Linked DNA regions of Homo sapiens: regions 2, 3, 4, 5 and 6 are each linked to region 1. Evidence: promoter capture Hi-C in 16 types of primary human blood cells and fetal thymus (Javierre and others, 2016). All regions are on one chromosome and are shown on one strand. The core of a region is centred on a gene start or on the middle of the fragment in contact, and the rest is flanking DNA. Distances in the headings are between cores, read along the strand shown. Region 1 holds the start of POC5 (POC5 centriolar protein). Region 2 holds the start of GFM2 (GTP dependent ribosome recycling factor mitochondrial 2). Region 3 overlaps IQGAP2 (IQ motif containing GTPase activating protein 2). Region 4 overlaps IQGAP2 (IQ motif containing GTPase activating protein 2). Region 5 holds the start of IQGAP2 (IQ motif containing GTPase activating protein 2). Region 6 overlaps SV2C (synaptic vesicle glycoprotein 2C).

Region 1 (4,498 bases), core at 1,315-3,814:
ATAAGTTGGAGATCCAGTTTGAGGAATCACTGGCATAATGGGAACTGCTGAAAAAAGGGAATGGATGAGACCACCTATAAAAAAGGAATGTGAGAAAAAGTTCTTATCCTGAGGTCCTGTATTAGTACGTTTTTCAAACTGCTATAAAGAACTGCCCAGGCCGGGCACGGTGGCTCATGCCTGCAATCCCAGCACTTTGGGAGGCTGAGGTGGGAGGATTACGAGGTCAGGAGATCAAGACCATACTAGCTAACACGGTGAAACCCCGTCTCCACTAAATACAAAAAATTAGCCTGGCGTGGTGGTGGGCGCCTGTAGTCCCAGCTACTTGGGAGGCTGAGGCAGGAGAATGGCGTGAACCCGGGAGGCGGAGCTCATAGTGAGCCAAGATCGCGCCGCTGCACTCCAGCCTGGGCGACAGAGTGAGACTCCGTCTCAAAAAAAAAAAAAAAAAAAAAGAACTGCCCAAAACTGGGTAATTTATAAATAAAAGAATTTTTATTGACTCACAGTTCCGCATGTCTGGGGAGGCCTCAGGAAACTTAAAATCATGGTAGAAGGGGAAGCAGGCACATCTTAGATGGCGGCAGGTGAGACAGTATGTGAGAGAGTGCAGGAAAAACTACCATTTATAAAACCATCAGATCTCGTGAGAATTCACTATCATGAGAACAGCACGGGGGAAATCGCCCTTATAATCCAATCACTTCCCTTCCCCTACATGTGGAGATTACAATTGAAGATGGGATTTGAGTGGGGACACAAGACCTAACCATATCAGGTCCCTATACCCGACTCGTATGCAATATTTTTATCATAAATGTGAATGTGTATTTTTCTAGAAAGAAGATCTTTCGCTTTAAATATGCGTTCAGAGGGGACCATAGCCCTAATAGAGTTAAGGACTACGACTGTGAATGAGAAGAGGGTTAAAGCCAGAACCACTAACATCTAAAGGGCAAGAGAAGAACAGTCAGCAAAGAAGAGGAGTCAGCAAAGGAAGTCAGAACATTAGAACTATGGAAGCAATATCACAACTTTGAGAAGAAAATAGAATTAGATGCCAAAGAACCATGAGGATTGGATAGAATTTGGAGATTAGGAGGTTGCTGAGACGTTTGCTTGAACAATTTCACTGGAAAGTAAAACAATTACAGGTCTTAGTCACAGTGGGCTGAAAAATAAATGAGAGATGAGGAAATTGAAATAGAAAAGGAAGATACAGGGAAAAGTGCAAAAATAGAATGGAAACACAGGCTGGAACTAAATTGTGGAAAGGAAAGTTCAACTTTTTCCAGTGAGTATCACTGTGCATACACATGTTAAGTAAACTAAATCTCAGCATGACTGTCTTTAGTTAAGCCAATTAGGGAGGATAAAATAAGTGCATGTATCTGCAGCAAGGAATGGCTGCTTCACTGACTTCAAATCTACCACTGTGATAACTTGGTCCATTTATATTTTTATTCACTTCTTCCTTCAGGATTTGAGACCAGGCAGGTAACAGGGGTGGGGGGGGGGGGGTGCTGATTATTTAAAAATGAGCTAGTAAGTATGGTCAGATCTCAAAAATTGTTTCTTAATATGGACACACTGCAGACACAAAAAAACCCACCGCACTCTTGGAAAATATGCTATCTTCCATCTGCCCTGCTTTATGTCAACAAGGTATGAGTTATTTGAAACTCTAGAACAGTAGCATTTTCCTTACTGTTTCTAGGTTCAGAAACAAAGGAGAAAAATGAAAACTGCTTTAATGGGTGGCGGACGCACATTAGTTCACTACATTTTCAGTAGTCTCTAATCCAAGGTATCAGAAAACAAGATCAAAACTTTTGTGTGCTTCTCTGTTGCCAGAAACATAAAATAACATCTTGGTAATTATCTGGCTGACAGCAAAACAGGGGTCTGGGAATTCAAATGGAACCCCCAAGAGGCAAAGGAAGAGCGAATTAACATGCAAACTAGCAGCAGGGTGATGTCGCCTGTGCCTTTCACCAGGCCTAGCTGCACTCAAGGAAAGGGGCGCGCCAGCCCCTCCCCAAAGCAGGGACTAGAAGCAGAGGAGAAAAGCCATTGCAGTAAGCAAAAGGCCATAAGTTTTCTTCCATCACCTTCCGACCCAGCCTGTTTTAAGAAAAATCTTACTTAAGCACAACAGAGCTTTATACATGGTTATTTTTTCTCAACGTTTTAAGTGACCGGAACCTCTGATGACAGTAATCGCTCAGCATCCCTCACTCCTGCTCACTTCCTCTTCCTGCACGCCTCGGAGGGGAAACTTTGGGACCTTCCGGCACAACAGCTGAATCACTCGCGGTCTGGGGAAGAGCCCAGGGGGAGGAAACACGCGCCAAGGAACTTTAAATCTCCCTCCACTACTTTCGCCAGGGATGCAGGGACGCAGGATCTGCCCGGAGCGCTGCTACCCACCGTCGCCGCTCGCGACCAAATCCCGACTCCTCGCTCTGCGCCTCTTAGCCGCGTCGCAGCTGCAGTGTCAGCAAGTGCAGCCTCAGCAAGCACAACCGCTACCTAGACGGCAACCTGACAGTTTCAAACTGCAGGGAGGAATTAAGGACCGCCCTGGGCATTGGTCCTTTGTTTCAGCAATCTGCCGTTTGATTGGTCCGAGAGCTGGGGGCGGGGATTTGGGCCGCTGCCGGGAGAAGCCGGAATTACTTTGGAGAGCCCCGCCCCCTGGCTCCGCAGGTTGGTAGGGGGCGGGGTCCTAGGGAGCCCCACCCAGCGCCCGTGGGGATTAAATATTGCGCGTGCTCAGTTCTGTTCAGCGGCTGCAGGCTGCTAAGCGGCTCCGGGAGCTGATTTGGATAGAGGCTGTTGAGCAGGGCTGAAGTTGGCTAATGCCGTGTGCTGTTGGCTTTCAACAATTCCGGTAACCTAGATATGAGTCCTAATGCTTTCGTCTGCATAAGAACAATCCGAAATTCTGGGCCAGGTGTGGTGGTTCATGCCAGTAATCCCGGCACTTTGGGAGGCCGAAGTGGGAGGATCGCTTGAGCCCGGGAGTTCGAGACTAGTCTGGGGAACATAGGGAGACCCTTTCTCTATAAAAAATTAAAAACAAAAAAAAAATCTGCATCATCCACAGATCCCCTGCAACAGAATCACTTGGAGGTGCTTTTTTTTTTTTTGAGATGGAGTCTTGCTCTGCCGTCCAGGCTGGTGTGCAGTGGCACTATCTCGGCTCACTGCAACCTCCGCCTCCCAGGTTCAAGGGATTCTCCTGCCTCAGCCTCCCGAGTAGCTGGGATTACAGACGACCGCCACCACGCCTGGCTAATTTTTGTATTTTTAGTAGAGATGGAGTTTCACCATGTTGGCCAGGCTGGTCTCGAACTCCTGACCTCAGGTGTTCCGCCCACCTCGGCCTCCCAAAGTGCTGGGATTACAGGCGTGAGCCACCACGCCCGGCCGAAGGTGTTGATTCCTTCGGTCATGGACACCGTCAGGAAATCTGAATTTTTAACACACACTGCCAGTGATTCTGATGCAGGAGTCTGCAGACCACCCTTTGAGAAATTGCTAGTCTAGGCTGGGCGCGTTGGCTCACGCCTGTAATCCCAACACTTTGGGAGGACGAGGCAGGCGGATCACCTGCGGTCAGGAGTTCGAGACCAGGCTGGCCAACATGGTGAAACCCCATCTCTACTAAAAATACAAAAATTAGCCGGGTGTGGTGGCTTACGCCTGTAGTCCCAGCTACTCCGAAGGCTGAGGCAGGAGAATCCCTTAAACCCAGGAGGCAGAGGTTGCAGTGAGCCAAGATATCGCCACTGCACTCCTGCCTGGGTGATAGTGAGACTCTGTCTCAAAAAACAAAGAAAAAACCAAAATTGGTAGTCTAGTTTTAACTAATCTCAAACGTGTCAGACTTCAAGATAGAGCCTTCTGGTGAAGTATTGGCCTTAGAATCAGATCATAATTATAATCTAGCTTTACCATCTACTCGCTGTCACCTTGGATAATACTACTCACATACTAAGGTGGTAGGAGATTAAAGGAATTAATATATCTAAAACACCGAACACACAAACATATAGTCTTTCAACTTACATTGGCAACAGATAGGCTAGAGGTATGAGGACCCAGATGGCAAAGGTACCTAAGTAGCCCAGACTGGGGTTCTGCAATCTGAAGAACAGATACTGAGATCTGGGTGAGTTTTCAGGCTCCCTTCTGTTACCTCCAGTATAAGGTTTCTTTTTCTGTAGATAGAAATGACATAACCTGGGTCTCACTTACTTTTATGTTGGCAGAACCAGACTTCTACTTACACAAACAAGTAAGAAGAGCACCAGAAGTTTCTTTGGCATAAATTATGTTTGTTCTCCCCCTTTTTTTTCATGCTTATTATAGAGGACAAGTTCCTATTAATAGCTGCAAATTCATACTTGGTTCTAGTATTTGTTTTTTAATTGAATTGCCTTTTGGTGACCCCATACACTATAATTGATACTGAATCACTCTTCTGGTG
Region 2 (4,498 bases), core at 1,257-3,756, 950 kb before region 1:
TGTTAAACCATTGTGATCCATGTTATTAAGATATGTGAAACCTCATTACTACTCCTAAGTCTGTTCTTTCTGGATCTTAGCTAAGAAACATTCACTACTCTTATTTAGAAAGTCATCTAATACTTACATTTGATTTCCTAAATATATTTGAATCTGTTCCCTTTGTTGTTTTTTTTTTTTTTTTTTTTTTTTTGAGACAGGGTCTTGCCCTGTCACCAAGCCTGGAGTGCAGTGGCTTGATCTCAGCTCCCTGCAACCTCTGCCTCCTGGGTTCAAGCGATTCTCCTGCCTCAGCCTCCCGAGTAGCTGGAACTACAGGCATGTGCCACCACACTTGGCTACTTTTTGTATTTTTAGTAGAGACGGGGTTTCGCCATGTTAGCCAGACTGGTCGTGAACTCCTGACCTCAAGTGATCTACCCACCTCGGCCTCCCAAAGTGCTGGGATTACAGGCGTGAGCCACCATGCCTGGCCTTGAATCCATTCCCTTTTCATTGGTAACGCCAAAGTTCAGGGCCTCATAGTCTCTCCACAGTTGTGACTGTAATAGACATTTTCCTCTTCTTTAACTCAGTGGTTGTCAATAAAAAGATAATTTGCACAACCCAGCCCTCCCCCGCCCAAGCCTATTCGTTCCCATTTATTCAACAAGAATTTACTGTGTGTCTGCCTACCCACTGCTTTCTAGATATCAGCGTTAATGCAGTGAACAAAAGACAACAATCTCTGCCCTCATACTGCCTCTACCGTAGTCAGGGGATACAGACAACAAACAAAAGTAACGAATACAATACATAGTCTCTCCCATGATGATAGGGTGCTGTAGAGAAGAATGAAGCAGGAAGGAGGAATTGGGACAGTTAGAACTGTAAGTAAAGAGATCAAGGAAGGCCTCATTCAAACAGTGACATTTAAGCAAAGACCTGAAGTAGATGAGGGAGGAAATTCGGGGGATTGAGGGACGGCGGGGAGGGGCGCATTAAAGGCAAAGAGATTATATAACGTACTGTACCTAAAATATACAAATGCTAGTTACTATTTCTGGTTTTAAAGAGAATGATGAGATCACCTTAGAAAATGGAGCCTTAAAAAACTGCTTCAAAGGCGGGGCTCGGTGGCTCACGCCTGTAATTCCAGCACTTTGGGAGGCCGAGGCAGGTGGATCACCTGAAGTCAGGAGTTCGAAACCAGCCCGACCAACATGGTGAAACCCCATCTCTACTAAAAATACAAAAATATTAGCTGGGTGTGGTGGCGAGCGCCTATAATTCCAGCTACTTGGGAGGCTGAACCTGGAGAATCGCTTGAACCCGGGAGGCAGAGGTTGCAGTGAGACGAGATGGCGCATTTGCACTCCAGCCTGTGCGACAAGATTGAAACTCCGTCTCAAAACAAAACAAAAACTGCCTCAAAGCCGGGCGCTGTGGCTCAAGCCTGTAATCCCAACACTTTGGGAGGCCGAGGCGGGTGGATCGCTCGTACCCGGGAGTTCGAGACCAGCCTGGGCAACACGGTGAAACCTCATCTCTACAAAAACTACAAAAATCAGCCAGGCTTCGTGGCGCGAGCCTGTAGCTCGCTACTTTTGAGGCTGAGGTCGGAGGATCGCTTGATCCCGGGAGGTCGAGGCTGCGGTGAGCCGAGCTCGTGCCCCTGCACTCCAGCCTGGGCGACTGGGCGAGATGCCGTCTCAAAATACCCATAAAAACAAAAACAAAAACAAAATACTGCCTCAAATACAAGCACTAAGAATTAATGAAAGTATTCTTTTGGTACAGTTCTTTTTGTTCATCAACTGAATCACGCTGCAAGCTGTGAAGTAATTAAGGGAACTTCTGCAACTGTGCAGTAAAAGGGTAAACCTGATAGTGTATTTAAGTAGACGTACTTTCTGGTAGTTAATTACTTCTTGACACTAGGGGGCCACTAAATACAAGTCCACTCAGCATTTGATTCGGTGCACCAAAATGCCTCAGAAATTTCTGGAATCAGTCCTGTACCTCCAAAAAACCAGAATGTTATCTTCTTCTTTTCTAACAGCTGCAAAGCCCCAGTAGTTCCATTTTTCTGTACACTAAGTTTTCATTCCTCAGTATCCTTCACAATCATGCACACATTACACAGAGTGACCGGAACAAAGATGAGTCGACTTCGCCGAATGATAGAGAAAAACTTCCATACTGAGCGAACACCGAGGGGAGTCCGGAGGCCCTGTTGTCCTCTTCCGTGGCTGGCTGTGTCCGTCGCAGCCTGAAAGGTCAGCGGTACCCAGCGCTGTGACAGGGTCACAGGCGCGCGATGTCTCACAGCTCGGAGCAGTACTCACCTGGCATTAGGCCGCGTGCCGCAGGCCAGCTCTCACCGCTGGGCTCTTGAAGCAGGAGGCGCGAGCCGCGCCAAAGTCTGCAACGGCCTCAAGTCTCGACGCCAGCCTAGGCAAAAGGCAATGTATCTAAACGAAAAGAAAATAGGCTTTCTCCGCTCTACCGCCTCGGGCAGCCACACCTCCACACTTCCGGCGGTGTACCGGCCAAATGCCGCCTGCCAGCAACTTCCGTCCTCCTAGCTAAAAGCGGAAAACAGAGGCTCGGAACCGCTGCGTGGTTCTTGCTCTTCACTCGGCCGTTTTAAAGGGTGACTCTTTCCTGTCCCGGCCTGCGTGGTGTGGGCTTGTGGGTCTTTGAGACCCGAAAATTGAGAGCGTTTTCGCACTCCAGCGGCTGCTCCTGGCGGCTCTGCGGCCGTCACCATGGTAAGGAGGATGCCTCGGACGCTCGCGACACACAGCGTCTGAGTTAGTGGGACCTGAGGACTCTGGGGCGCTGGGGTAGGGGGTGAGCGGTGGTAGGCGGAAATGAGAACTGCCAAGAGAAAAGGATGGTAGACCCGTGGGGTGGGCTCTGAGGAGTGGAAACAACTTCACATTCGAGACACAGACGGTATTTGCCAGAACACAAGCTTTGGAGCAAGATTTTACTCTGTCCTGTTTTCTTTTTTCTTTTTGATCCACCGCTAAGAGTCCTAAAAATTCCTGATTTCACCACAAGCGTGGTTATCAGCCCCAGAGCCTAATGGGAATATGGTTGTCCCTTGTACAGTCTTAGATGTCAGTCCCGCCCCCTTCATTTTACTGCTGAGGAAACTGAAGGCGTCCTTGCCAAAGACCAGACAGCTAATGAATTGCGAAGCCGGGCTTAACGGCCCAGATCTAACTGCCAGGTCCTTTCTCTTTGTGTTACGTCTCTATAATCTGCGTTTCTTTGCAAAATGGCATTCCATACACCCTTCATGTGATTGCTGCAAAGTTTATGTGATAGCAGTTGGTAGCAGCACACCTTGTTGGTTGTTACTTAACATTGCTCTCTGTGCTGGACTTGGCTTTGTATCATTTTTATTTTTGCAGCCTTAAAATACGAATAGACTCACGCCTGGCCGCGTGTTTAAAACGTGTCTAAAATGCAAAAAGCATCCCATACATTGCTGGTGAAAAGAAAAATAATGCACTTTTGGAAAACGGTCTGGCAGTAAACACACGTCCACATGAAGACTTGCATGCAGTTGTTTATTGCAGATTTATTCGTAATCACCCAAAACTGGGAACAACCCTGATACCTATCATCTGGTCAGCGGGTAAACAGTGGTGTATCCATACAATAGCATACTACTCAACAATAAAAAGGATTGAAGTTCCTATACCTGCAGCAAATTGGGTGAATCCCAAAAGCAAGAAACCAGATTCAAAAGGCTATGTACTACTGTTGATCCCTGTTTCATTCTGGGAAAGGCAAAACTGTAGGGATAGGTATCAAACTGAGGGTTGGGAAAGAGGATTGACTTAAAAGTTACATAGGGAATTTTAGGGGGAAATGGAAATTCTTTGTATTTTGATTGTGGTGGTTACAGAACTGTGTAGTTAGGAAAAACTTAGAACTGTATACCTAAAAAGGACAGGTTTTACTGTGTGTAAATTATGCTTCAATAAAACTGACTTAAATTTTTTAAATGTGAAATGAAGGTGTTATTAAAAAAGCAAATTATGTCAAGGAAAAAAGATACTGTAATCAGTTCATCCCTTTTGTGGTCCAGTAGATTTTGGACCATTCCCTAATGAGATTATTAGAGATGTAAGCCCTGATGCCTCATATCATTCAAGACCAAAATTTAACTTACATCATGTGAATAAACTTAATGGTGCAAGAATCATTTAAGTAAGTGAACATTTGGATGAAACAGGGTCTTTGTGCTGTGTAAAAGAAAGCATTTTAGAATAATTGTCAGTACTTTAAAAAATTAAAATAATATTTCTTCCATCATTATAGCCACAGAATGAATATATTGAATTACACCGTAAACGCTATGGATACCGTTTGGATTACCATGAGAAAAAGAGAAAGAAGGAAAGTCGAGAGGCTCATGAACGTTCAAAGAAGGCAAAGAAAATGATTGGTCTGAAGGCTAAGCTTTACCATAAACAGCGTCATGCTGAGAAAATACAAA
Region 3 (4,498 bases), core at 1,267-3,766, 860 kb after region 1:
TTCACCATGTTGGCCAGGATGGTCTTGATCTCTTGACCTCGTGATCTGCCTGCCTCAGCTTCCCAGTGTGCTGGGATTACAGGCATCAGCCACCACGCCCGGCCACATCATTCTTTTTCTAAAGAAATGTTTGTCTTTTTCTCATTTTTTCAAAAGTAATGTATGCTCATTGTGGAAAAAATTGGAAAATCCAGGAAGAATGTTAAAGAAAAAGCTAAAATACCCACTATCTCAACACCAAGTAAAAACCACTGTAACTATTTTGATATCTTTGAACTTAAAGTGTATACTGCGTATGGCATGTTTTACTTTTGTGGCTTCTTTTGGAATGTTATAAAGCCTCTGCCTTGAAAAGGAACCAGTTTAAGAGTGAGAGCCTTACTAACTAGTTACTATACTAATTTTTAAAAAATATCTGGAGGCCTTTTACGTAAGGGTAAGAACACTTTTTTGACATGTTGTTTAGTGCCCACCTTATTAAAGATGTATAATAAATGATATTAAACAACTGTTACTTGTTTAAACAGTCATAAAAGTGAGTTCCTTGAAAGAGTTGGAATAATTTAGTAGAAATGATGTTTTGAGTACTTCAGATACCTTAAAGAGCAGGTGAAATGCCCAGGTACGTTATTACAAACTTACTACACTGGAACCTATTCTGTAAGACCCATACTACAAGTTTCACTCATTTTGTTTATTATTTATAACTAGTTTTGAGTTGTCCTTGGCTATTATATTATTTTGATACCTACCCAGAATTGACATAATCTTCGTGGCACCAGAAACAAAAGAATACCCTTTCAAACCTGCCATGATTACAGATCTGGGTTTCGGATGGATCACTTGTGAGTCAGAACATGGCGCAACTTTGGGTTCTTCTCCCATGGCGAGTCAGACCCTGGCCACAGGCATCAGGCTAAACTTTCTTTGTTTAAAAAAAAAAAAAAAAAATCAGACCGCATTTAAGTACCCGGCTTTCAGGTAGGTCTTTATTTACAATCTGGTCCCCACCCCTGCCCCCCTTCCCCATTACCCTGAAATAATTTACTTTCTTAAGTCTCACTTGACCAGCATTGTATAATCCATTGTCCTGTCATAATGATGTATTGGCCTGATCCATTAACATTATTAAAAGCTTATGTATGCCTTTTAAATATTTTTTTTTTAATTAGTTGGGCTTTCTAGAGGTTTTCATCCCCTGGGAGACAAGGGATTGACTGTACCCAGTGATCCTTAGGCTTTTGGGCTGATTTATCATCTCAGATCATGTTTCTAGTCCTGCCTCCACTTAGTTAGTGGATGTGACCACCAGTGCTGGACCCTCTTTCTACCCGGTGTTTCTGTCACCACCTATGCTCCTTGGTTCTTCCTTATCTTGGGGCACTTCCTTTGTTTTCTGGGACTATTTAGTTTACTCAAAGTTCTTGGTCTTTATTCTTTCATGTAGTATAAATAGTATAAAAATATCTATATATAAACAAATATAGGCCAGGTGTTGTGGCTCATGCCTGTAATCCCAGCACTTTGGGAGGCTGAGGCAGGCAGATCATGTGAGGTCAGGAGTTTAAGATCAGCCTGGCCATGATGGTGAAACCTCATCTCTACCAAAAATACAAAAATTAGCCAGGTGTGGTGGCAGGTGCCTATAATCACAGCTACTCGGGAGGCTGAGGCAGGAGAATCGCTTGAACCTGGGAGGCGGAGGTTGCAGTGAGCTGAGACTGTGCCACTGCACTCTAGCCTGGGCAACAGAGGGAGACTCCATCTCAATTAAAAGAAAAAAAAAAAAGCATGGTGGCACACGCCTGTAGTCCCAGCTACTCGGGAGGCTGAGGCAGGAGAATAGACCCAGGAGGCGGAGATCACAATAAGCCAAGATCGCGCCACTGCACTCCAGCCTGGGCAACAGAGCGAGACTCCGTCTCAAAGAACAAAACAAAACAAAACAAAACAAACAAACAAAAAACAGATATAGAAGAAACAAAGTACTTGTGTTTTAATAATGCTCCCCAACTTGTTAAAGTCAATATAAATACACATTCGCTATTTATCTCTTTTTTTTATTACAACTTCCTTTTTGGACACTGTATATTATTCTCTTGATTATTGTTTTGAACCTGTGGCCTTTCTCAGACTTAACCAAGATTAATATCTCTTTCTTTTTGATGAACCAGATTGTTTCAGCTTGGTCAGTCTGAGCTCTTTCTGGCCCACTTCCTTGTCCTTCTAGCACCGTCCCTGACATTCTTTGAAATATCCTTGCTCGTGGTCACAACAGGATGTTCCAGTCCTATCCTGATTATTTCTGCTTTGAGATGTGGAACCACCACTCTCTAGGGATTCCTCTTAAAAGTCATGTGTTTATATTAATTTTTCAAGTTTAACCTTATTAGCTTACTGGATTCTGCTTTTCTTGCTGTCTAGTTCATTTGACCATTGAGATTCTTCTACATGGGCAGCCACAAACGGAAGCTATGTCTGCCTCTCCTCTGTGATAGGATTACTCTTCCCGCTGCTGATACTGTAGCTGTGTCGCAGCAGCCATGTTTTCAGGTGCAATGGTGATGCCATGGCTCTGGCAGACCCACTTCTGGTTCACCAGCCGTCCAGGTACTCTGGGAGCTTTGTGGAGTAGAGTTTGTCTAGCCAGCTCCCACACAGCCAGGTGGCTGTCTTGCTTACCAGGTGGCCTTTGAACCTGCTCCTCAGGCATTAATGCATAACTTTCCTTGTCTTAACACTCTGTTCCCTTAGAACCTTTTCCTTCCCTAAGAAACTGATTGAACCCTTATATCAGATTGATTATATCTCTAACAGTGAACATATTTGCATTTATAAATAAGATTTCCAAAGACAGTTTCTTAGCTCAAAGGACAGGCTCTAATCCTAGGTTCTCAGAAGGGATATCTGGAGATGGCAGTATTTGGAAGTAAGGTGAGGGAGGCAGTTGCACCTGCTTATTTCTTTCAAGTCCTTCCTTGCTCAGAATTCTCTCTGTGCTCTGAACCATTCCTTTCCCTTTCCTCCTCTTTCTGTCCTAAATTAGTATGGTGGTTATGCCTTTCTGTCTTCCTAAATTCTGAGCTCTTAAGAGACTATGAACCACATCTTGTTACTTCATACAGCTTACGTGCTATTGATTCCAAGTTAAAGTCTCTGGAGTTTGTATATTTAACTCTTCAGGAGGTTTAATTGAACTAATTTCTCTATGATAAGGCTACCTCAGGATTCCTTTGGTTTGGGGCTGAAAATTAGGTATAGAACCCTGGATTTTGATATGATATTGGCAGTGATATATGTGACTAAGATGGAAAAATTTGGTTCAGTAAATAAAACTATTTCAAACATGGAGTCTGTGGTGAAATAGAGATTCTTGGCATTGGAAAAAGTAAGAAAACCACTTTGATAGGTTATCAATAAGTGTTTGTATACAAAGGACACATTTATTTAACAAAGAATAGTAAGAACAAAGGTTAACACAAATGGAGCTTTTAACTATGTGCCTGGCACTGCACAAAATACTGTACTGGTATAATCTCATTTTATCTTCATAACATATCTGTGCAGTGGTCACTATTATTACTCCCATTTTATCACCAAGGCAGTTGAGGCACAGAGAGGCTGCCGAAGGTCACACAGTTAGTAAAAACCAGGATATGTGAGAACTGAACCTGTGCTATTATGAATTCAGCCAGCCAATGGCTTCAAAAGAAGTCAATTATTTCCCTACTTCTAAGAAAATTAAAAGAACACTGGTATCAGACTTGAACTTCAGCACAGGCCTCTCAGCTATTATATTTAACATGTTTTAAATGAAGAATCATGGAACTTGAGAAGGGGAAGGGCCTTGGGAAGTTATTGTAGTCTAAGTCATTCATTTCACAGATAAGGGAACTGAAAGCTTGGGTTACGTGACTTGCTCTTAGTCACACACTGAGGTTTTACCAGTTTTGGGACCAGGATTCAGCGCTTCTGGATTCTAGTCCTGTGGTCTTTCTGCTCTACCATGAGGCTTTGATATACAAACATTCATTCCACATGTTATAGTACAAAATGAGCTACACATAATGTGATCCAAGAAAGCTGAAATAAATTTAGCTCCTGCCTTTTAAGTTTGCATTTCATTACGATAGTACCTTTTAGTGTATATCCTGAAAGTATAGAAAAAACTAATACCACTAGTTTTATCTTGAAAGTGGTAGAAAAAACTAATGCCATGTGATATTGGCAGTAATGTATGTGACTAAGATGGAAAAATTTGGTTCAGTAGATAACAACTACTACTACTACTACTACTATATACTACTTTCATGATATACACTAAATGGTATTTTTTAAAACTTTCTTTATTGCTTCCTGGACTTTAAGTGATATTATTTGTACAAGTAGGAGCACATGGGTCAATGAGTCGGTAGCTACCTCTGGGCAACCCCTCCGTTGCTGGCCTCACTCAGCTGCACAGGTGTGCTGTAGCTTTTGGTGTGGTAGGAGGCTTGCT
Region 4 (4,498 bases), core at 1,041-3,540, 830 kb after region 1:
GAGCTCAGTTCTCCAAGGCCCTTTGGTCAGCTTATTTTCCTGCAGGGTGTCACATCCCACAGTAGTCTCCACCTGGAAGACATTGGATCTCATATGTTCAGATCAGTGTAGCCACGCTGCTCTGTGGAGAACAGTGTGATAAATCCTTGGTAGCATTACGCTTTAAACTGGTGGCCACTTGCCTACCTCCTTTTAATTTCATTTTGTTAACAATTGTTTCTTGAGGACCTGTTGCATGCTGGGTGCTTTTTTCCTGGGTGATTTCACATTTAGCATCTGTTTTCATTCTCATGACTTCTCTGTGAGGTAGCAAGTATTGTACCCAGTTTTCTGATAGAGGAAATTGTGGCCCAGAGAGATTGTTGTACCCCAAAGTAATGAAGATGAATACAGTTGCAGAACCAAGTTAGAAGCCAGATTTTTGGAGATCCAAGGTCCAGTGAACACAGCTGTACCCCCACAGACACTTCCGAAAGTGACCACAGCCTCTTCAGCCAGTCCTGAAGAGTATGTTCACCTTCATCTGTCTTAAAGCACAGGCACACCTGGCTTTGGGAAAGCATAGTTTATCAAGATCTGAATTGGCTCATTTTAGTTTTAGAAAAGGTTTCACCTAAGGCTTCTGCTTAAGAAGAGAGCATTCCTAGGAAGTGAGCTTAAGCCCTGTTCACCCTATTAATCTTAAGTGATTTGTCAGAGCAGAGTGGCAGAGAGGTGTCCTGCAGAGGTGACAACCTGAATTTAAATCACAGCTCAGCCGCTTACTAGCTGTGTAATCTTGAGCAAATTACTTAACTCTCTGAGCCTCTTCTTCCTTCTCTATTAAAGGGGAGTGATATCAATCTCATCAGATTAGTGTGAGAATACATTCATATAAGTGCCAAGTACCTGCTAAGTGCTAGTCCATGTGCTAAGTAAATGTGAGCTGCAATTGTTTGCCATTGGCATTATCAGTAGAGTGGGAGTCTCATTATAGCAGAAACCTGGCTCTCCTGAACATATGTAAATATTTACATAGCCCCTACTAAATGCCATTTAAGAGTGTATCTAGTGTAAGGCAATAGGATGTGTTTAGCAGGAGGAGTGGATTTGTTCAGGGGGTGCAACAGACTGGGATGGGAGAAGAAGGCATGTTTGATAGTCAAAATGCTGGCATACTTCCTGCGCAAGGAAGTCTGTATGGCTAAACAGTGCTGAACTAAACAAATACTGCTGAAGGTCAGGTGTGAACAGTGAATCATATTGGCGGGGCATGGTCTGGGATATGGTGGTGAGCAGTAAAAACTACAATAGCTACCATGAAAGGTACCTACTATATGCCAGGCACTGTTCTAGTGCTTTTCTCCTATTAGCCCTTGGAAGCAGTTCTATTATTATCCCATTTTGTAGATTAGGAAACAGACTCAGATTAATTCAGTTACCCAAGGGGCACGTAACTGGTAAGTGGCAGAGCTTTGGTTCAGTCTCAGGCGTCGAGCTCTGGAGTGTGTGTGTGTGTGTGTGTGTGTGTGCTTTCAACCATTGTGTTAGATGCCTCTCAAGACAGATAAGGTCCTTGCTATTGTAGAATTCACAGTCTAACTGAGTGAGCCAGTCAAACTAATAAGTATTATATCTAGTCTGCCAGGTAGTAATAAATGCAGTGAAGAGAAAATTGGGTGAGGAATTTTAGAGGATGATGGGAGTTGATGTTTTAGCTAGTGTATTAGTTTGTTCAGGCTGCCATAAACAAAATACCACAGATTGGGAGGCTTAAACAACAGAAATTTACTTTCTCACAGTTTTGGAGGCTGGAAATCCAAGAGCAAGGTGTCAATGTGTTTGGTTTCTTCTGAGGCCTCTGTCCTCGGCTTTGCAGATGGCCCTTTCACTATGTCCTTCTGTCTTCCCTCTATGAGCGTTCAGCCCTGGGAGCTCTCTGTGCCCTGATCACCTTTTCTTATAAGGACAGTAGCCACACCTAATCACCTCATTTTAACTTAACCATCTCTTTAAAGGCCCTGTCTTCAAATACAGTCTCATTTTGAGGTATTAGGGGTTAGGACTTCAACATATAAATTTGGGGAGGGGAACACAGTTCTGACCATAACACTCTGCCCTCTGCACCCCCAAAATTCATGTCCTCCTCACAGCAAAATACATTCACCTGCATTCAACAACCTAAGCCTTAACCCATTCTAGCATCAATTCTAAGTCCCAAATCTCATCTAAATATCATCTACATCAAAGTGAGAGAGACTCAAGTATATGATTCATCTTGAGGCAAAAATTCTTCTCCAGCTGTGAACCCGTGAAACCAGACAAGTTATTTGCTTCCAAAATACAATGATGGGGACAGGCTTAGGATAGACATTTCCATTCCAAAAGGGAAAACTTGGAAGGAAGAAAAAAGGGTCATGGGTCCAAAGCAAGTCCAAAACCTAGCTGGGCAAATTATGTTCAATTTTAAGGCCTGAAAATAATTCTTTTTACATGATGATCTGTCCTCCAGGCCCATTGGGCTGGCAGAATTTTTTTTTTTTTTTTTTCAGTATTTATTGATCATTCTTGGGTGTTTCTCGGAGTGGGGGATTTGGCAGGGTCATAGGACAATAGTGGAGGGAAGGTCAGCAGATAAACATGTGAACAAGGGTCTCTGGTTTTCCTAGGCAGAGGACCCTGCTGCCTTCCGCAGTGTTTGTGTCCCTGGGTACTTGAGATTAGGGAGTGGTGATGACTCTTAAGGAGCATGCTGCCTTCAAGCATCTGTTTAACAAAGCACATCTTGCACCGCCCTTAATCCGTTTAACTCTGAGTGGACACAGCACATGTTTCAGAGAGCACGGGGTTGGGGGTAGGGTCACCGATCAACAGGATCACAAGGCAGAAGAATTTTTCTTAGTACAGAACAAAATGGAGTCTCCCATGTCTACTTCTTTCTACACAGACACAGTAACAATCTGATCTCTCTTTCTTTTCCCCACATTTCCCCCTTTTCTATTTGACAAAACCGCCATCGTCATCATGGCCCGTTCTCAATGAGCTGTTGGGTACACCTCCTAGACGGGGTGGCGGCCGGGCAGAGGGGCTCCTCACTTCCCACACGGGGCGGCCAGGCAGAGGCGCCCCTCACCTCCCTCCCGGATGGGGCGACTGGCCGGGCGGGGGCTGCCCCCCACCTCCCTCCCGGACGGGGGTGGCTGGCCGGGCAGAGAGGCTCCTCACTTCCCGGACGGGGTGGCTGCCGGGCGGAGGGGCTCCTCACTTCCCAGACGGGGCGGCTGCGGGGCGGAGGGGCTCCTCACTTCTCAGATGGGGCGGCCGGGCAGAGACGCTCCTCACCTCCCAGACGGGGTGGCGGTCGGGCAGAGACGCTCCTCACCTCCCAGACGGGGTCGGGGCCGGGCAGAGGCAATCCTCACATCCCTCACATCCCAGACGGGGCGGCGGGGCAGAGGCGCTCCCCACATCTCAGATGATGGGCGGCCGGGCAGAGATGCTCCTCACTTCCTAGATGGGATGGCAGCTGGGAAGAGGCACTCCTCACTTCCCAGACTGGGCGGCCGGGCAGAGGGGCTCCTCACATCCCAGATGATGGGCGGCCAGGCAGAGACACTCCTCACTTCCCAGACAGGGTGGCGGCCGGGCAGAGGCTGCAATCTCGGCACTTTGGGAGGCCAAGGCAGGCGGCTGGGAGGTGGAGGTTGTAGCGAGCCGAGATCACGTCACTGCACTCCAGCCTGGGCAACATTGAGCACTGAGTGAGCGAGACTCCGTCTGCAATCCCGGCACCTCGGGAGGCCGAGGCAGGCAGATCACTCGCGGTCCAGAGCTGGAGACCAGCCCAGCCAACACGGCGAAACCCCGTCTCCACCAAAAAATGCAAAAACCAGTCAGGCGTGGCTGCGCGTGCCTGCAATCCCAGGCACTCTGCAGGCTGAGGCAGGAGAATCAGGCAGGGAGGTTGCAGTGAGCCGAGATGGCGGCAGTACAGTCCAGCCTCCGCTGGGCATCAGAGGGAGACCTTGCAAAGAGGGAGACGGGAGAGGGAGACGGAGAGGGGGAGGGGGAGGGGAGGGGGAGGGGAGGGGGAGGGAGAGGACTGGCAGAATTTCTTCAAGGCCCCAGGTGGCAGCCTTGCTTTTGAGGCCTTGGACAATGACAGCCTCACCCTCTCACACTGAGACAGAGAGAGCCTCACCCTTTGAAATGGAAGAGAGCCTTCCTCGCCCCTGGGCCTGAACACTTTCGTTGTGGGGTGAGAGTAGTAGCTTTAGGGACCATTCTTCCTTTTTCTTGAAGGATAATACATGCTCACACCCAGAGCCAGATAGATCTATTGTCCCATCCTGTAGCATCTCAGAAGCCTGCTGCTGTTGTGTCCTGTCTCTGTCCCCTTTAGTCCAAGTCAGCAGTGTTTCTGCTACTGGTAGAACCCCGTCTCTATTCCTGGCTTCTGTTGAGATGGCCAATTAGATCTGTGAGTCCCACTGTCACTCTTTAGGGAGTGATTGTCCAG
Region 5 (4,498 bases), core at 913-3,412, 690 kb after region 1:
CTTCCATACTCAAAACCTTTAAGATCTCTTGAATGTTTCTACGATAATCTCCGGTCCTCTTAGCCAGACACTCAGGGCCCTCCACAACCTGATGACAACTTCATAGCTCCAATCCAGTCCAACCAATCCAGCTCCAACCCAACCTTGTGCTCCACCTCATTGTTTCTTTCCCTTGGATGCTCTCCATCCAGCTTTTACCACACTTCCACTTCAAGCCACACTTTCAAACCCTGTCACCTTCCTGGACCATTTTAGTTCAGAGTGATTTTTTCACCCACCTCTAAATATATAGACTACTCATTTATTTGGGCTCTAAGTCATACACTCATACGAAAATTGTTATGTGTAAATACTTAATTGTTAACACTTGACAAATGCAACAACAGAAATGGAATGAACTTTAGACATCATTTAATTCAGCATCTCCTGACATGCACGAAAATCCCCTTCCACATTTCTCCTTTGGGTGAATATCAATTGACAGGGTGCCGAGCCTCAAATGTGGCCATTTCGCCTCTGAATTGTTCTTAGACTGAGAGGCATCTGCTTTTTAAGAAAGGAAAACTCCATTCATCCCATTCCAAACAGGTGAGAATCTAATGCCATCAGGGAAAAAAAAAAAATATTTTGCTATCCCGTCTGAATTGAGAGTTCCCTGTGTACAGTTTACGTCCCTGTGAGCATCTACCACTCACAGAGCCACCCTAAGCACGCTCTGCAGTGTCAGCATCACCTGGCAGTATGCTAGAAATTAGAAATGCAAATTCATGAGCACCAGCCCAGACCCATTGAGTCGGAAATTCTGAGGGTGGGGCCCAAGAATGTGAGTTTCAACAAGTTTGAGAAGGACTGCGTCTCCTATATGAAATGGAAAACAGCTGCTCATCCTCTGTATCCTTGCATAATAAAAAATGATTAGTGTCACTATGCCACCATTTCCTCAGCGAAATAATTTCCATCCCCCCACCGCCTCCGAGGGTCTTGCACTCTCACCCAGGCTGGAGTGCACTGGTGCAATCACAACCCACAGCAGCCTTGTCCTCTCGGGCTCAAGCAATCCTCCCACCTCAGCTTCCTGAGTAGCTTGGGACTGCAGGCGCAACCACCACGCCCGGCTAATACGGCTAATATTATTTTTTCATTTTTTGGAGAGACGGGGTCTCGCTATGTTGCCCAGGCTGGTCTGGAACTCTTGGGCTCAAGGGATCCTTGTGCCTCGGCTTCACAAAGTGCTGGGATTACAGGCGTGAGCCGCCGCGCCCGGCTCTAAATAATTTCTTATCGCCCTCCCTCAGTTTGTTTTTCCTGTTATCGGGTCACCCACACATTCCACAATTGTCAAATAGGTGAGGGCACAGGTACGGAAGCGTCCCGCATTCCCTCCAGATTTTATCACGCTGAGACACAAAGAGAAAAATAGCTCCTGGCGACCGCATGAAAACCCCGATTTCAAAACAGCCACATGCAGTTTAATTTCCTTAAAAGCTTAGCCGGAAAAGGTTTCTGTGGCTTGCGACCCCAGCTGGGCTTGAGAGAAGGCTCTGCACACTGGGGCGGGGGCGGGCACAAGGTGATCGGAGGGAGGGGGATGACTCGCAGTTGTGTTTTGAGTGGTTGCCTTGGGTTATCTTGTTCCTCCAGCACACACACACTCAGTTTCTTGTCATAAGGGGAACCCTGTTATTTTGTAGACAAAAAGTGACAGAAGCAACTTTCGAAGCAAAAAAAAAAAAAAAACAAAAAAAAACAAAACCAAAAAGACGAAGAAGAAGAACAAAAGTCAACGTGAAATCTCCCCAGAGGAAAAGGAACCGCGCTGTTTGTCCCTCAGTAACTGAGCAACACCCCGGACACGAAGGGCTCCCTGTGACTTCTGCGGTTTTTCTTGCACTTCTCCGCGTTGGTTCACTTCCACCCTCGAAACTCTCCAGAAGCGAGAAATAAGGCGGGGTGGCCGCCACCCCCAGGCCACCAGCTGTGCGGGGGCCCCAGCTGCAGGGGGTCCCGGCCCAGCGTCCCTCTCGGCCCCTTCCCTCTCCCCCGGGGGAGAAGGGGCGGGTCCACGCGGCCTGGGCGCTGCGCCCGACACGCGGTAGGGGTCGCTGCGTCTCGGCGCGCGCTCCCACCGCGGTGAATAACGGGGCCTGGCTGGAGGAGAAAGGAAACCTGCTGCGGGAGGCGGCGGCGACCGGCCAGGGAGCGAGGGAGGAGAGTTCACTTTTACTTCAGTGTCAGCGCGCGGCGGCCGTGGCTGGCTCTGGCGAGAGAGCACCGAGGGAGTGGGTCGCAGATCTTCGGGCGGCTAGGGGAAATCGGCGAGAGGCGGGATCCGAGCGCGCCGGCGGGGCGCAGAGCCCGCGAGCCTGGCCAGCGAGGGTAGCCGCGGGGGGCGCGCCCCGGGCGGGCCCCCGGAGACGCGCAGGATGCCACACGAAGAGCTGCCGTCGCTGCAGAGACCCCGCTATGGCTGTAAGTGCGCCGGGCGCGCGGGGTTCCTGCTGGCCTTGGGGAGCTCCCTCCCCGAGGACGGCGTTGGAGAAGCCGAGGGAGCCGGTTGCGCGGCGCAGAGGAAATTGGAAGGCAGCAACTGCGCGGCTGGCAAAGTTGGGAGCTGGAGTTGCAAAGGGCAGTGAATCGCGTCCCCCCGCTCCTCCCGCCCCCCAATTCCTAATATCCAGCTGGCAACCCAGACCCTCCACTCCGCATACCCAAACGGGGTGCGCGGGCAGTGCGGGGATTGCGCTCTGGGACAGACCAGGTTGGGATTTTAGGGGTATCAGGTGAGGAGTCCGCGGAGCTCCGGGTCGCCGCCGGCTTGGGCCAGGGGGTGGCGTAAGGCACCGGATTCTTCCAACCCAGAAGGGGAGGAAAGTTTGTTTGCTGTGGCTACAGGTGGGCACCGCAAGTAGGGCGCCGGCGCACTCTGCTAGTGCAAAGCCGGCTTGACTGGAAGGGCGGGAGTCTCCTCCTGTCCCGCGCCCTCGAACTTCACCTGACCCGCTAGAGCCATTGGCCTCACAGGTGTAAGTCCCTCCCCTCTGAAACCCCCCAACCCCTTTCCCCCCCGCTCCCCTCGCGCGGGAGGATTGCTGTGTGGAGAGGACGCGGCACTAGGCTCCGGGGAATCCGGCGGGAGCCCGCGTGACTTGAACGAGATGGTGTCGATTACCCAGCCAGGGGCTGCCCTCGGAAATAGGTTGCTTTGGCCGATCGTGAGTGGATGGAGCCAGATTAACACCAACCACGTGGCTTCATGTGCAGAGTTCAGAGTCCTAAACATGTGCCAGGAAGCATTTCCTTTAAAACAAACAGAAAGTTGGCCTGCTGTCTCTCCAAGGTGGCCCTGTCAGTGAACCCAAGGCCGAAGACCACAGGTTAATCTTTGCCCAGGCTGGCCTTGGTGGCAGAGGTACCAGGTTTGGGTTAAGGTGGTGATACCTTCAGCAGGGTGTTTTGTTTGTGTGTGTGTGTGGTTTTGGATGGTGCGTAAGGCCACTGACTTGCTTAACTGAAAAAGGGCTCCTCAACTTGTGTAGGTTCTTTCCCCTCCTCCCCGCTGGCGTGTCAAAGATGGGAGGTTATCTTTCCTGTGTTACCCTTGCAGTGAGGGGGAGGCCTGAGGACTACAGCCTCTGTACTCTAATGCATTCAGCAGTTGACTGAGACCCAGCTTTTTGCCTTTTGGTAAACCACACAGACAGCAGAGCCTCTTGGGTTCAAGAGGGAACGCTGTGCTCATTCAGTGTTTGCAGTGCCAACCTCAGGTGGGACCCAGCTTTTTGCCTTTTGGTAAACCACAGATACAGCAGAGCCCGTTGGGTTCAAGGAGGAATGCTGTGCTCATTCAGTGTTTGCAGTGCCAACCTCAGGTTGGTGGAAGTACTTTAATGTGACCAGCTCTCAGAATATATGGTGGCTTCACTGTGTCAAATGATAAGATAACCACAAACTTCTGCAAACTAGGTGAATCTACATGAACAAATGATTTCTTGCTATCACATGATTGATGTCGGCCCTCATGAGCAATAAATAGTGCAAAATTTCCGTGAATGTGGTACATGAATGCAGCATTTCTGTCAGTCCCTGCATGTGCATCTGTGATGCTGCTTGATTTTCACGGAATAAATCTGTGTTTTAAGTGCACTCCAGAAGAAGCTATCAAGGGAGTCCAGATCTGGCAAGCCTGAAGCCCACTCCACAGGGCCGCTTTCTTTGGAAATCTTCATCCAGCTTTCTTCACCAATGTGGTGTAAGGGGGTGGTGTGCCATCTTGTTGGAATCACTCCCGGTTACTTTCCCTCCACTCATCAAGTGCTGGCATTCAAGTTGGTCACTTAACACTGTCAAAATGGAAAATATTTGCCTATGTTTCCAGACTTTCTTGTCACCCTGAAATATTAAGGCTTTAATATGACAGTTATCTCATTAAAATGAACACTTTTATAATTTTGGTTTATGAATGGTGTATTTTCAGTGTATTCAGAACATGATATCTAGC
Region 6 (4,498 bases), core at 661-3,160, 540 kb after region 1:
TAAGGAAAAAAAAAAAAAAAAAATCTCACCTTTCCTTACTACGAAGATTTTATCTTTGTGAAATCAATGTTTCTTAGTTATTTAATATCACCGAGTCAAAATCTTTTAGCTTTACCTACAGGCATAATTTAACTTAGAAACGATTATCTCCATGTATTATGAGAAGAAAAACTAGTTCAATTTTCTCCCTATCATAAGTTTTTAAAGATTCTGCTGCAGACTATTCTCACTGAGTTTCAAAAACTTGAACTGCTTCCCTCATTAGACTTGGCAGAAGGTAGAAATGTAATGCATTGTCTGGGTGCAGGAGCTCACACCTGTAATCCAAGCACTTTCAGAGGCCAAGGCAGGAGCATTGCTTGAGGCCAGGAGTTTGAGACCAGCCTGGGCAACATAGGGAGAAACCACCTCCCTGTCTCTATTATTAAATATATGTGTTATTATATATATATATATATGTGTGTGTGTGTATATATATGTGTGTGTGTATATATATATGTGTGTATATATATGTGTGTGTATATATATGTGTGTGTGTATATATATATATATATAGAGAGAGAGAGAGAGATATTAAAAATTTAAAAATAAATGTAATGCATCTACACATCCAGCCAGCCAATGTGGCATAATAACAGCATTATTTGCATCCCTACTTTTCCATCTATTCCTTGAGAGTGTCGGTGGAAGTGGTTCTGAGAGCCCCAGCTGGAGTGAGACAGAAGGCAAACATTACTCAAACCTCCATGTTTAGCTTTACAATGGTGTCACTCACTTGATCTCACTCTTTTAGCCCTTATGAACTGCCTATTTTCCATGGAAATTTCCAGGCATGGAAGGTAACATCTGACATAGATATGCCCAAACATTCAATGTGAAATAAATACACAGACTGCCTCTGATGTGTTCTGAACCATAATTCAGATTTCAAAAATCTTAATGAATGAAGCTTCTACTTTCCCCAAGACTGTCACTAAATCTTCTCATGGCTTAATTAAATACTAATAATTGTACTAAATCCAAAATGTTAATTATGTTTATCTCTGAGTGATGAAACTTGGAGTTATTTACTTCTTTTATTTTCTGTATTGCTTGCCACATAGACATGTATTATTATTGTAACCAAGAAACAATCACATTGCTATCTGAGGGTAGAAGAAAATGATCAAAAGCATCTGAGACAGGCATATTGGCTGGGGTCCACCCCTTTTCCTGGTACAAATGAGACTCTAAGTGTTGATTTATATTTATTTTTTATAAATCCTCTCTCCACCCCACCCCCAAATGGATTTTACTTTGTCTACATTTTTTAATACTCACTGTCAGGAAATACTCTGTTAACCTAAGATTTTGAGCTTTTCCCTATTATTCTGTCCTATGGAAAGAAGAACAGTTATTCATATAATATTAATGATCACTCTTAATATCATTAAAAAGCTCTGTGGATCTCTCCAGTAATTTCTAATACATCAAGGTAGCCAAAGATTGTTTTGCAGATAAATTTATTTTCCTGCCAGGGATTTTTAAAACCATAAAGCATTATCAAAATCATAAAGTATATGTTTCTAGCTCACTCTTTTGAATCTGTCTGTTTTCCCAGACTGGAATTCACAAACGCATTCTGGTTATAATGATAGCACGTGGTTTGGAGACAGGATCAGCCGGTCTGGAGACCATCTTCCCATGTCACCCAAGCCTCCCATGCAGGGACCCTGTCTTCCTCCACCCCAGAATGTCCATGGTTGTCCCTTTCCTTTGTCCCTGGTTCTAGAGTCCTTTTCTCACTAGTCCTTCAGGAATGTATCACATTTCCTTCTTAACTGTGGCCCTAGAGTGGTCCTTTGGCCCCACTGTCCTAGCTTGGATCTCTGTCTGTCTAGCCAGGCATCCCTTTGCTCTATTAGATTTTCCCTACCAAATCCCAGTCCGTGGGTTGCCATCAAGTAACCCTTACATGTCAGCACCGTGCCTGTGAAAGCCAAGCCCCTCACCTGGTGAAATCGTTATCAGAGTGGTCACGCCTGGCCACCTTATGCGCCCCCCTCACCCCTCAGGTTCTGCTGAGCCACTGGGCCACTGGAGGAGGGACTGCCTCACCTGAGACTCTCATCTCCGCAGCCACCTCCCACCAAATGCCCAGTTCTTCCTGCCTCTTCCTTCAACTTGGCTCCCATCTCAGCCCTTCTGGGGGAAGAGGGCTCAGATTCTTACAATCTCCATAGAAAGGAAATACAGTGTCAGGCCAGTTTGCCTGATGCCTTTTTAAAAATCAATAAAGGGGACAGAATGCAAAATATGTGCTAGGTTGTTTTTATGAAATGCAAGGCAAAAAATGCCCCATTAAACATTTCTTCTCTGCAGCCCTTGCTCTCAAGGGCACATGCTTGACCCTTGGGTTCTTAAGACTTTCACCAAGGCCACTTTGTGCTTTGCCTGCTCTGCCTGAGTCTCTGGCCCTCAGAGCTAGAGGGTGGGGCTGGCCTTCCAGTCTGTATCTGTCCCCTGGGGGAGTACCTTTCCAGGCTGAATTTAAGAATGCAGCAATTGACTTAGAATGCAGACTCATTGAGTGAATGCGAGCCCTGGAGGAAAGAAAAATCACTGTCACTTCTGTGGCCCCCAGGTTTGACACTTTCAGGGCAACCCCAGAGTCTGAATTGCTTGGAACATCCACTCACGCATGCAAGTGAAAGTCATCAGGGAAGAGGCTTTTAATAGCGCAGCGTCTGTGTGTCTCTTGTGAACCCAGGGTGCCCTCAAGTGTTGGCTAGGGTTAATCACAAGCCGCTGTTTCTGAGAACACCCTAGAATGAAGCAACCCTTAAACGTTTTAGCTTTGTGACTTGTGTCCATCACTCTTAATTTTCTGCAGAAGCTTTTTCCTGCCTTTGTTACTTCTGTAAATTCAGTCTATCAGAGGGCTTATGTGGTACTTTTAAAAACTCACTTTGATTTGCCTTTGTGCAAATTGAGCTCTGAAAGAGAGCAGTTTCCAGGGAAATTCATCTCCCAGCAAGAATCCTGCCTGCTACCAAATCATCTTTTAATCTGCCCCCCGCTTTAAAATGTCATTATATTTTCCTTATACAGACCTTCATAAAACTTACAAACACTGTCTAGTTTACATCTTCATTTTGCTCTCACAAGGCCAAAAAACTTGTTAAACAGACTTAATGAACGAGTTCCTCTTGATCGGGGTTGTAAGTTTCTAAAATTGCATTTGAACTTCTACCTGCCTCTAGCTGAATGAAAATTGCCTCCAGACATCTGAAGTCTTTTTCTTCCTTTCATTTTGCTTAATCTACCTCTGTATCAAAGCACATTTCCATTTTGTTTAGGCCAGTTGTCAGACTCTAGGCATTTGCAGATTTTAGAAACCTGCACAGGTGTTCTGATGTGCCGTAAACTTCCAGAGCCACTGAATTCAGCAAAGAAATTCCTTGATGTTCCTACTTATTAATCTTATTAATTAACATATATCTTATATATTAATCTTTATACTTATTGTTGTCACTGGGGCTAAATAGTCTCTATAGCTCGTGGTGGGGGGCTGTAGTGTATGTGTGTGTGTGTGTGTGTGTGTGTGTAGTGTGTGTGTGGTATCTGTATGGTGTGTAGTGTGTGTGTGGTATCTGTATGGTGTGTGTACTACATGGTTGTATGTGTTGGGGTGTGGGGGGTGCGTGTAGTATGTGTGGGGTAGTGTGGTATGGTTTGTGTGTGGGTAATGTGCAGTATATGGGTGTGTGTAGTGTGGGGGATAGCGGTGTGTATGGGTGTGTGGGAGTGTCCTGTGTGTGAGGGTGGTGTGTGGTGTGGTGTATGAGCGTGTGGTGTATGAGTCTGTGGTTTGTGTATGTGTGGGGGGACATGGATATGTGTGGTATGGGGTGTCTATAGTGTCAGCAGATGGTAGTGTGTGTGGGTGTGGGTATGTAGGTGTAGTGTGCATGGAAGTGTGGCGTGTGTGTGGTGTGGTGTGTGGTATGTATAGGTGTGTAGGTAGGTGTATGTGTGTGTATGAGTGTGTAGTGTGTTGGGTGTGGACGCATGTAGTGTGTGGTATATGGGTGTATGTAGTATAGATGGTGTGTCTATGGTGTGTAATATATGGGTATATGTAGTATGGATGGTGTGTGTGGTAGGTGTATGTGGTGTGTGTGTGCAGTGTGTGGGGTTTGAACATGTGTGGTGTGATATATGGGTGTGTGTGGTGTGTGTATGTGTATGTGTGTGGTGTATGTGTAGTGTGTGGGGTATAAACGTGTGGTGTGTGATAAATGGGTGTATGTAGTATGGGGTGTGTGTGTAGTGTGTGGGGTGTGGATTGTGTGGTGTATGGTATATGATATATGTGTTTATGTAGTATGGGGGGTGTGGTATGTGGTGTGTGTGAAGTGTGTGGGGGTGTGGTGTATGGTATATGGGGTGTGTGTGTGTGTGTATGTGTGTGTAAGGAGTTTGTTGGAGGTGAAGTACTCTTTCGACCACAAAGGTC

What was found. Contacts are between HindIII fragments. The CHiCAGO score rates a contact against its expected background, and 5 or more counts as called.
Region 2: the fragment with the promoter of GFM2 here is called in contact with the fragment with the promoter of POC5 in region 1 in 14 of 17 cell types (total B cells, non-activated CD4 T cells, activated CD4 T cells and 11 more); the score reaches 28.5 in total B cells.
Region 3: a fragment that was not itself captured here is called in contact with the fragment with the promoter of POC5 in region 1 in 1 of 17 cell types (naive B cells); the score reaches 5.2 in naive B cells.
Region 4: a contact is called between a fragment that was not itself captured here and the fragment with the promoter of POC5 in region 1, in 2 of 17 cell types (naive CD4 T cells and total CD4 T cells). The highest score is 7.9, in naive CD4 T cells.
Region 5: the fragment with the promoter of IQGAP2 here is called in contact with the fragment with the promoter of POC5 in region 1 in 2 of 17 cell types (naive B cells and naive CD8 T cells); the score reaches 7.3 in naive B cells.
Region 6: a fragment that was not itself captured here is called in contact with the fragment with the promoter of POC5 in region 1 in 10 of 17 cell types (M1 macrophages, M2 macrophages, M0 macrophages and 7 more); the score reaches 10.7 in M1 macrophages.

What each region holds. Positions count from the first base shown.
Region 1 is chr5:75,714,873-75,719,370 of GRCh38, forward strand. POC5 (POC5 centriolar protein) reads right to left here and starts at 2,565. Exons shown (of 12, transcript NM_001099271.2): 1 at 2,434-2,565. It overlaps LOC441087 (a long non-coding RNA gene), which reads left to right and starts at 2,560. Exons shown (of 3, transcript NR_149046.1): 1 at 2,560-2,712. RefSeq lists an enhancer at 1,961-2,270. The HindIII fragment of the contact is 9,196 bases long and covers 1-4,498 here.
Region 2 is chr5:74,764,611-74,769,108 of GRCh38, forward strand. GFM2 (GTP dependent ribosome recycling factor mitochondrial 2) reads right to left here and starts at 2,507. Exons shown (of 21, transcript NM_032380.5): 1 at 2,328-2,507. NSA2 (NSA2 ribosome biogenesis factor) reads left to right here and starts at 2,639. Exons shown (of 6, transcript NM_014886.6): 1 at 2,639-2,753; 2 at 4,321-4,498. The coding sequence starts at 2,751. RefSeq lists an enhancer at 2,220-2,659. The HindIII fragment of the contact is 3,173 bases long and covers 1-2,957 here.
Region 3 is chr5:76,578,508-76,583,005 of GRCh38, forward strand. The region is part of intron 5 of IQGAP2 (IQ motif containing GTPase activating protein 2); the gene reads left to right. Among named protein-coding and RNA genes, the nearest start is that of F2RL2, 43 kb to the right of the region's middle. RefSeq lists an enhancer at 3,720-3,809. The HindIII fragment of the contact is 2,766 bases long and covers 1,134-3,899 here.
Region 4 is chr5:76,547,837-76,552,334 of GRCh38, forward strand. All of the region lies in intron 2 of IQGAP2 (IQ motif containing GTPase activating protein 2), which reads left to right. Among named protein-coding and RNA genes, the nearest start is that of F2RL2, 73 kb to the right of the region's middle. RefSeq lists an enhancer at 1-23. The HindIII fragment of the contact is 5,305 bases long and covers 1-4,498 here.
Region 5 is chr5:76,401,123-76,405,620 of GRCh38, forward strand. It overlaps IQGAP2 (IQ motif containing GTPase activating protein 2), which reads left to right and starts at 2,163. Exons shown (of 36, transcript NM_006633.5): 1 at 2,163-2,469. The coding sequence starts at 2,424. RefSeq lists silencers at 1,845-2,194, 2,365-2,474 and an enhancer at 2,128-2,628. The HindIII fragment of the contact is 5,105 bases long and covers 1,484-4,498 here.
Region 6 is chr5:76,253,704-76,258,201 of GRCh38, forward strand. All of the region lies in intron 4 of SV2C (synaptic vesicle glycoprotein 2C), which reads left to right. Among named protein-coding and RNA genes, the nearest start is that of SV2C-AS2, 56 kb to the right of the region's middle. The HindIII fragment of the contact is 1,926 bases long and covers 948-2,873 here.